3 separate regions of the Homo sapiens genome follow, and regions 1 and 3 are each linked to region 2. The links are contacts of gene promoters, found by promoter capture Hi-C in blood cells and fetal thymus (Javierre and others, 2016). All regions are on one chromosome and are shown on one strand. The core of a region is centred on a gene start or on the middle of the fragment in contact, and the rest is flanking DNA. Distances in the headings are between cores, read along the strand shown.

What was found. Contacts are between HindIII fragments. The CHiCAGO score rates a contact against its expected background, and 5 or more counts as called.
Region 1: a contact is called between a fragment that was not itself captured here and the fragment with the promoter of MYBPC3 in region 2, in 2 of 17 cell types (endothelial precursors and erythroblasts). The highest score is 7.9, in endothelial precursors.
Region 3: a contact is called between a fragment that was not itself captured here and the fragment with the promoter of MYBPC3 in region 2, in 1 of 17 cell types (erythroblasts). The highest score is 6.0, in erythroblasts.

What each region holds. Positions count from the first base shown.
Region 1 is chr11:47,257,494-47,260,193 of GRCh38, reverse strand. It overlaps NR1H3 (nuclear receptor subfamily 1 group H member 3), which reads right to left and starts at 2,198. Exons shown (of 10, transcript NM_005693.4): 1 at 2,065-2,198; 2 at 935-1,014; 3 at 215-403. The coding sequence starts at 977. RefSeq lists an enhancer at 190-758. The HindIII fragment of the contact is 1,012 bases long and covers 932-1,943 here.
Region 2 is chr11:47,351,450-47,354,149 of GRCh38, reverse strand. MYBPC3 (myosin binding protein C3) reads left to right here and starts at 1,448. Exons shown (of 35, transcript NM_000256.3): 1 at 1,448-1,527; 2 at 2,645-2,700. The coding sequence starts at 1,503. RefSeq lists an enhancer at 1,824-2,700. The HindIII fragment of the contact is 20,166 bases long and covers 1-2,700 here.
Region 3 is chr11:47,230,435-47,233,263 of GRCh38, reverse strand. It overlaps DDB2 (damage specific DNA binding protein 2), which reads right to left. Exons shown (of 10, transcript NM_000107.3): 4 at 305-450. Among named protein-coding and RNA genes, the nearest start is that of DDB2, 17 kb to the right of the region's middle. The HindIII fragment of the contact is 2,598 bases long and covers 270-2,829 here.

The DNA of each region.
Region 1 (2,700 bases), core at 188-2,687, 94 kb after region 2:
ATAATTTTTATTTCCATTTTATAAACAAGGAAAGTGAGGCTCAGAAAGGCCTAGAGACAAAATTCACACTTAGATCAGTCAGATTTAGTTAGCTCTAAAGCCTCTGAACTTAACCATGAGATTATATATAAAGTAAAAACCCCCAAGGAACCTCTTCCAGATCCAGGACCTGGAATCTGGACCCCTACCTCCTCCAAACCCAGAAGCTCCTCACCTGTGGGTTCTGAAGGGGGCTCTGCCCTGGTGAGCAGGGCTGTGGGCTCTGCAGCCTCCAGCCCCACCCCTGCAGTACCCCCAGCAGAGTGGGGCATCCTGGCTTCCTCTCTGAGGATGCAGCTGCTGCCTCCCTGGGCCTGGCTGCTTGCATCCTGTGCGCCTGGCTTCCACAGCTCCACCGCAGAGTCTGAGCTCCAAAAGAGAGGCACAAGGGGGTCTCAGGCCCCATCCCGGCTCCACGGCCCAGCGTCCTAGCTGGGAAACTGCAAACTTATCCCCACCCTTAGAGGGCAGCAAAGTCCCAGCTCAGGCTTTGGGACCCTAGAGTCTGTGTGGGCTCTAGCTAGGACTAGTCACTTGTAGTTTCTTACATCTCAGGACCTTAAATGAAGATGTTAATCCTTGTCCCTTTGGGGGGCTGGAGTGTATGCATTTCAGAGATCAGATAAAACTCTTCAAAGCCAGAGCAGGGTAAGCACTCAGCTGGCCAACTCTCTAGCAGCAAATCCAGACTGGGGAGGACTGGGCGGGTGCCTGCAAGGGCCAGGCACTGGAACCAGGGGAGAGGTGATCTGGGCGGGAGGCAAGCACGACTAAGAATGACTCTGGACTGCTCTCTGGAGGAAGGAAGAAGGCAGGTAATGAAGGAGGCTGATTCCTACAGGAGGCGTGGAGCCTGCGGTCTGGGCTCAGGGGAGAGGGATGGAATGAAGCTTACCAGGAGGAATGTCAGGCACAGGGGCCCCCAGCCACAAGGACATCTCTTCCTGGAGCCCTGGTCATTACCAAGGCACTGTCCTGCAGGAAGGACCCAGATTATACTCTTCTAGAACTGGGCTCCTTTCTGGCCTCAGCTCCCTTCTCCACCTGATCCTCCCTTTTATCAATATCAACAATATCAGCTAACATTTACTTGCCATATATTAGCCTGTACTAAGGCTTTATTATATTACTATTATGTTTTTTAGAGACAGGTTCTCCCTATTTTGCCCAGGCTAGTCTAGGAATTCCTGGGCTCAAGTGATCCTCTCACCTGGGCCTCCCAAAGTGTGGGGATTATTGGAGTAAGCCACTGCGCCCAGCCTGTTATAAGGCTTTATGTGCTTTCCTCATAATATCCCTCTGAGGTCAAAACTATTAATTTTTTTTTTGAGATGGGGTCTCTCTATGTTGCCCAGGCTGGAACTCAGTGCTATTCACAGGTGCAATAATAGGACACTATCGCCTCAAACTACTGGGCTGAAGCAATCAGGTTTCAGCTTCCTGAGTATCTGAGATTATGGGCGCACGCTACTGCTCCTGGCTCAGGACTATTCTTAAACTCATTTTACAGATAAGCAAACTGAGGTTCAAAGAGATTAAGTAACTATGGTCACACAGTTAGGCGGCGGTAGAGTCAAGACTCCAACCCTCCTCTGACTCCAAAGTCTGGGCTCCCAGCCACCGTGCCGGCTTTTCTCCCCCAAAGTCCCCTCCAGGCCAGCAGGGAATGTTTGGGTGCATCTGCCCTGCTTCTCTTGGGCCCCTTCCCCCTCACTCCAACACTGAGGACAGCTCACTCCACCCAGTGAAACACGCTGCTTATTAGAGAACCTCGCTCGTGCCACTTTCCAGGGTCCCAGCACAAACCTGTCTCCAAGAATCTCCCCAATTCACATAGAGGACCTCCTCCCCTGAGCCCCTCATGAGTTATTCTGGGACCCAGAGTCCTGCTCCTGTCCCAAGCTTCCATCACCATCACCCCTCACTTCTCCCCAGAAACCCCCTTCTCAGATCCTTAGGACATTCCCCGACCCCACCCCAGATACACACACAGAGCCCCAGGCCACTGCTAAGGAGCAGACCCACCAAATCCCCAGGCCACCAGACTTCCTGGGTGGGCAGTCTCTGGAGCCCCCTTGCTGGGAGAAGAGGATGGTGCAGTTTCCTGTCCAGAAGTCTCGGTGGCCAGCCAGTGAGCTGGAGCTGAGCACAAGCAGGACCTGGAGCCCCAGAGAAGTAGCAATTTGGGGAAAGGCTGAGGGGAGGGACTGCCGAGGGGTCAGGCCACCCCTCCTTCCTGCCTGGTGACCACAGCCCTCCCCTCCTCACCCCCGCCCACAGGGCAGCTTCTCCACCAGGCTGGCTCCTCCCCAGCCGGCCACCCCCTCTCCCGCCACTCCCGCCCCCTACTCCCGGCCAAAACAGTGGCATTTCCCTGCAGACCAGCCAAGTTCCATGTCTCTCCCCTTCCTCTCCTTACCCAGCGCTCTTAGCAGCTCTTGCAAAAGGACTGCCTCCCAGGAACCCCCACCCCAATCCCAGCAGCCTCCAGAATCGTGTTCCCTCCCCTCCATAGGCACCTCGTGGAGCAAAGGTCCCAGCACGGCCCGGAATTGCGACACTGAGCCCCAGCGGCTTTCCCAGCCTCCCTCCTCCTCCCTTGCCTCTGGGAAGAGGCCAAGAAGCTCTCCCCACTAGCCCCAGGCCTCAGCCAAGCTGGTA
Region 2 (2,700 bases), core at 199-2,698:
TGAGCGGAGAAGCCTGTAAGTCCTGTGTTTTCCTCCAGACGGTAGCAAGTAGTGGCAGTAGACAGCCTGGGAGTGAGGGACTTCCCAACGCTGTCAAAGACCTTAGGGAACCCAGATTCTGGGGCCATTATCGTAGGGACAAATACCCGCCCCACACCTCCTCAACCCCAGAGGGCTCACTGCAGCCCAACCCTGCAGCTCCCTAGTCCTACTGCAGGGCCACAAGAGAAGGCAAAATGGTGTTGTGTCTTCATTCTTCTATTTTTATTTTTTTTTTTTTGAGACAGGGTCTTACTTTGTTGCCCAGGCTGGAGTGCAGTGGCACGAACATGGCTCACTGCAGCCCTGACCCCCCGGGCTCAAGTGATTCTCCTGCCTCAGCCTCCCGAGCATCTGGGACTACAGGTGTGCGTCACATGCCTGACTGATTTTTGTATTTTTTGTACAGATGGGGTTTCATCATGTTGCCCAGGCTGGTCTCGAACTCCTGAGCTCAAGTGATCTGCCCGCCTCAGCCTCCCAAAGTGCTGGGATTACAGGTGTGAGCCACTTCGCCCAGCCCATTTTTATTTTTTTATTATTATTCTTTGAGATATTAATAATAAAAAATAATAATAAATAATATTTTTATTATTATTATCACTCTGTCACCCAGGCTGCAGTGCAGTGGTGCGATTTTGGCTCACTGCAGCCCGGAACTCCTTGGACTCAAGCGATCCTCCCACCTCAGCCTCCTGGGTAGCTGATACTACAGGTCCACACCACCACACCTGGCTAATTTGTGTGTGTGTGTGTATTTATTTTATTTTTTATTTTTTTAGTAGAGATGGGGTTTTGCCATGTTGCCCAGGCTGGTCTCAAACTCCTGGCCTCAAATAATCTGCCTGCCTCGGCCTCCCAAAGTGCTGGGATTACAGATGAGCCACCACACCCGGCCTAACATTTTTAAAATTATAAACCCACTTCATACGTGTGACAATCCTGTGCAGTGGGTGCTGCTTTCACCCACCCCGCTTTACAGATGAGGAAACCAGGTGCTTTGAGATTAAAGAGATGGCAGTGCTAGGACTCAGAGACACCCTGGCCCCAGGGTCTGTGGACATGACCACTGCCTGAACTGCCTGCGAGGATGCTCCTGACCCGTTAGCCTTAGGGTTATGGGCCCAGCATGCTCCCACCGTACAATTTGCTGTAAGAGGGACACACACGGGGCTTGGAGTACCCCTGAGGCTTGCCAAAGGTTGGGGAGGCAGAATTGTGCTGCGGGGGGTGAGGGGGGAAGGGACAGGAGCCAGCCAGGGACAATGTGGCCCTACCTTCTCCCTGGAGAGACCTCAGCTCTCTGGAATTCATCTATATTTAGCAGGTGGCTGGACAGGAGGCAGATAAGCAGAGCCTGGGGAGGGGGGAGGTCCCCATATATAGTGGGAAGGACAGGACCCCACTCAGTCCCTCTTTGGGTGACCTGTGCCTGCTTCGTGCCTGGTGTGACGTCTCTCAGGATGCCTGAGCCGGGGAAGAAGCCAGGTAGCTTTAGGACTGGGGTTGGGTCTAAGTGTGGGAGCAGGGGGGTGTCTACAATTGGGGAGCAGGGCTAGGAGGGAGTTCTTGAGGGGGTTGACGAGGACGTGGCCTCTGAGCCCCAGGACAGGGGCAGCCAGTCCTCCAGGGTCCTTTTTTGATTCTCGGTTTCTTTTTCCCATCCCTCTGATGAGAGGTGAAGGTAAACCCAAGGTCAGGGACGCAGAGAGGGGACACAGCCAAGACAGGAAGCACCCGGGGTCAACCCATTCTGAGAATGCAAAGGGACCCCTTCCCTGTCCCATTGCCTTCACCTTCCACAGCAAGGTTCCCCGCGGACAGAGCCCACGTTTAGTATGGAGCTGAGCCAGGCTCACGGCATGCCTTCAGACCAGTCTCTACCCACTATGGGTCTCAGTCTCCCAACCTGGGGTGCCGGGGGTGGTGGTGGCATTGGGTTGGTTCCTCCTGGCTGTGACATTATCTGCTTCATGAGCCTGTACGGTGTGGCCCCCATGTTGAGGGTGACACAGCCCCTCTTCTCTGAGAGAGGACAGTCAGGAGCCCCTGAACCCAGGCCAAGGGCAGGGAAAATCACAGCCCAGGGACCTGGGCCTGGGCTGTGCCCTTATGAAGGTTGTCCAGGGCAGAGATCCAGGTCCCCATCCCCCAGCGCCCTCCCAGGCCAGCTTTATCTCAGTTGCTGATACCCAGCCTGAGGTCCTTGGAGGACAAATTTGGCCACATTCCAAGTAGGCAGACTTCCCCGCCCCCTGCCAAGGGCCCGAAATGGTTGGGGGAAAGGGAGCTGGGTTCATCACGGGTGTCTCCAAGCAGGGAAAGTGGACACATGCAGAAAAAGTCTTGTTGGGAGGTCAGGACCACAGCCCTGGCTCTCCCGACTGCTAGCTGTGTGATCTTGGAGGAGCCGCTTAGCTTCTCTGAGCCTCAGTGTCCTCCTCTGAGAAATGAACAGAATAACTGCAACTACCTCAGAGAACTGGTAGAGTATTACGTGAGGGGATGCATAGAAAGTGCTAGCACAGTATTTACTGAGAGGGGCTGCAGGGGCGGGGTGCACGCTCCAACCAGGGGCCGCTGTAGCCTCCACCTGGCCCTTCAGTCTCAGCTTTTAGCAAGAAGCCACGGTCAGTGGAAGTGGCCGCAGGCAGCCCTGCC
Region 3 (2,829 bases), core at 319-2,818, 120 kb after region 2:
CTAGGTGGCTTTCTGGGTCCACGCCATGCTGGCTTATCTAGTGAGGGTCAAGGTCCAGTCTAATACAGGTATGACTTACAGAAGAGCTGAGGCTCCAGAACACCTTCCCAAAGCAGTAACCCACCTGGACCAAAGTGAGGGCAGCCAAGGAGCAGTTTGAGAAAGAGAAAGAAGGGCGGAAAGTGGCTGACATCTTTCCTTTCTTCCCTGGGCCAGGTTGGGTTAAGGAAATGGGATCTGGATGCTCTTGCCGGAACTACACCTAAGCTTAGAAGCCCTTTCCCCTGCTAGTTAAACTACTCACTTGATGGTGTCTGAGCTGGCAAAAACTCGTAGAATGTTGCCTTTAAAGTCTTGCAGCCTAGTTGTTCCCTCCATTGAGGAGGCGTAAAACTGGTTGGTATTGAGAGGGTTAAACTTCAGCCCAGTGATGCTCCCTCCAGCTCCAATCTAACACGAGGAAGGAAAAAGCCAGTGAGTGATGATGGGCCTGGCCGTGAGGAACCAGGCCTGGGCACACATGCTGCGCCGTCACAGAAGCACCCCTCGAGCAGCGCTTGGGGCCAGGTCAGCTTAGACACTAGGACGCTCTCTACAGGGCCTTCACTTCTTTTTCTTTTCCTTTGAAATAGGGTCTTTCTCTGTCACTTAGGCTGAAGTGCAGTGGCACAAACACGGCTCACTGCAGCCTCAATCTCCTGGGCTCAAGCGATCCTCCCACCTCAGCCTCCCAAGTGCGTGCCACCATGCCCAGCTAATTTTTCTATTTTTTTTTTTTAAGATGGGGTTTTGTCACGTTGCCCAAGCTGGTCTTGAACTCCTAAGCTCAAGCGATCCCCCTGCCACGGCTTCCCAAAGTGCTAAGATTACAGGCATGAGCCGCTTTGTCTGGCCCCTTCATTTCTTTCTTTTTTTTATTTTTATTTTTATTTTTATGTTTTTGAGATGGAGTCCTGCTCTGTCACGACCTCGGCTCACTGCAACCTCTGCCTTCCAGGTTCAAGCGATTCTCCTGCCTCAGCCTCCCAAGCAGCTGGGATTACAGGTGCCCACCACCACGCATGGCTAAATTGTATATTTTTAGTAGAGACAGGGTTTCACCATGTTGGCCAGGCTGGTCTGGAACTCCTGCCCTCAGGTAATCCGCCACCCTTGGCCTCCCAAAGTGCTGGGATTACAGGCGTGAGCCACCGTGCCCCGCCTCCCTTCATTTCTTAAGGCTTTATTTTTACTTTTTTTTTTAATTAACATATAGCAAATTTGGGATATAAAGTTCTCTGAATTTTAACATATGTATAGACTTAAATAACCACCACCCAAATCAGGATGCAGAACATTTGCAACAGCCCAAAAACTCCATCGTGGTATCCCATTGTAATCACACCCTCCCCTCGCCCCCAGCCCCTGGCTGATCTGTTCTCCATCACTATTGTTTTGCCCTCATAGAATGTCCTATAGACCGAGCACAGTAATCCCAACACCTGGGGAGACTGAGGCGGGGGGATTGCTTGAGGCCAGGAGTTCAAGACCAGCCTAAGCAATATAGGGAGACCCCATCTCTACACACACAAAAAAAATTTAGACATGGTGGTAGGTGCATGTGGTTCTAGCTACTCAGAAGGCTGAGGTGGGAAGATGACGGAAGCCTGGAGGTCGAGGCTGCAGTGAGTTGCGATCGAATCACTGCACTCTAGCGTGGGTGACAGAGCAAGACCCTGTCTCTAAAAATAAAATAAAATAAAATTAAAAATAGAATGTCATGTAAATGAATTAGGCAGTATGCAACCTTTTGAGACTGTCTTGTTTCATTTCACTCATCATGCCTCTGAGATTCATCTGAGTTTGCTGTATCAAGAGCTCATCTCATTTTATTGCTGAGGTATTCCATTACATGGATGTGCCCTAATTTGTTATTCCCACAGTGCTCTCTTTAGAAGAGCTTCAGCTCAGAGCAGTGGCTGAGTTAGGAGGGCAGGAGTCAGATCTGTGCCCCTTCCTATTCTTCCAAACATTCATGAAAATGATGATGAAAATAATCATGAGAATATCAATGGCTTAACCTTATTAAGTGCTTACTATGTACTAGGCGCTGGTTTTTTGGGGGGATTTTCTTTGTGTGTTTTTTTTTTTTTTTTTTTTTTTTTGAGATGAAGGCTTGCTCTGTCGCCCAGGCTGAAGTGCGGTGGCACAACCTCAGCTCACTGCAGCCTCCACCTCCTGGATTCCAGTGATCCTCCTGCCTCAGCCTCCTGAGTAGCTGGGATTACATGCCCACACCATCACACCCAGCTAATTTTTGTATTTTTAGTAAAGACAGGTTTCACCATGTTGGTCAGGCTGGTCTCGAACTCCTGACCTCAGGTGATTGGCCTGCCTCGGCTTCCCAAAGTGCTGGGATTACAGGCGTGAGCCACTGCGCCCAGTCAGGCACTGTTTTAAGAACTTTACATCCCCAAGATGTAAAGTTCTCCACTTGTCCGCCTTTCTCCACCTTTTCCACTTCTTCTTTACGCTGCAGCTATCCCAGCCTCACAGACCTGTACAAGTTCTTCTATGCAACAACCACTTAGCTATCACAACATACTAACTGGCACATTCCCTTCCCTCTATAAAACATTCTAACCTCACGGTCATTCTAATGCTCATGGTCTGCCAAATGCTTGCTGGTAGTATGACAATCTTCGGCTCCCTCCAGTTGAGTTCTATGCTTACCAAACCAAGGGTTGGTTGTAGTTGTTCTCAAACCTGTTTATTCCAATTGTATCTTTTATTGCAATTAACACCAAATTTAATTAAGCATGTAAATTGATGAAATACATGCAAAAACAA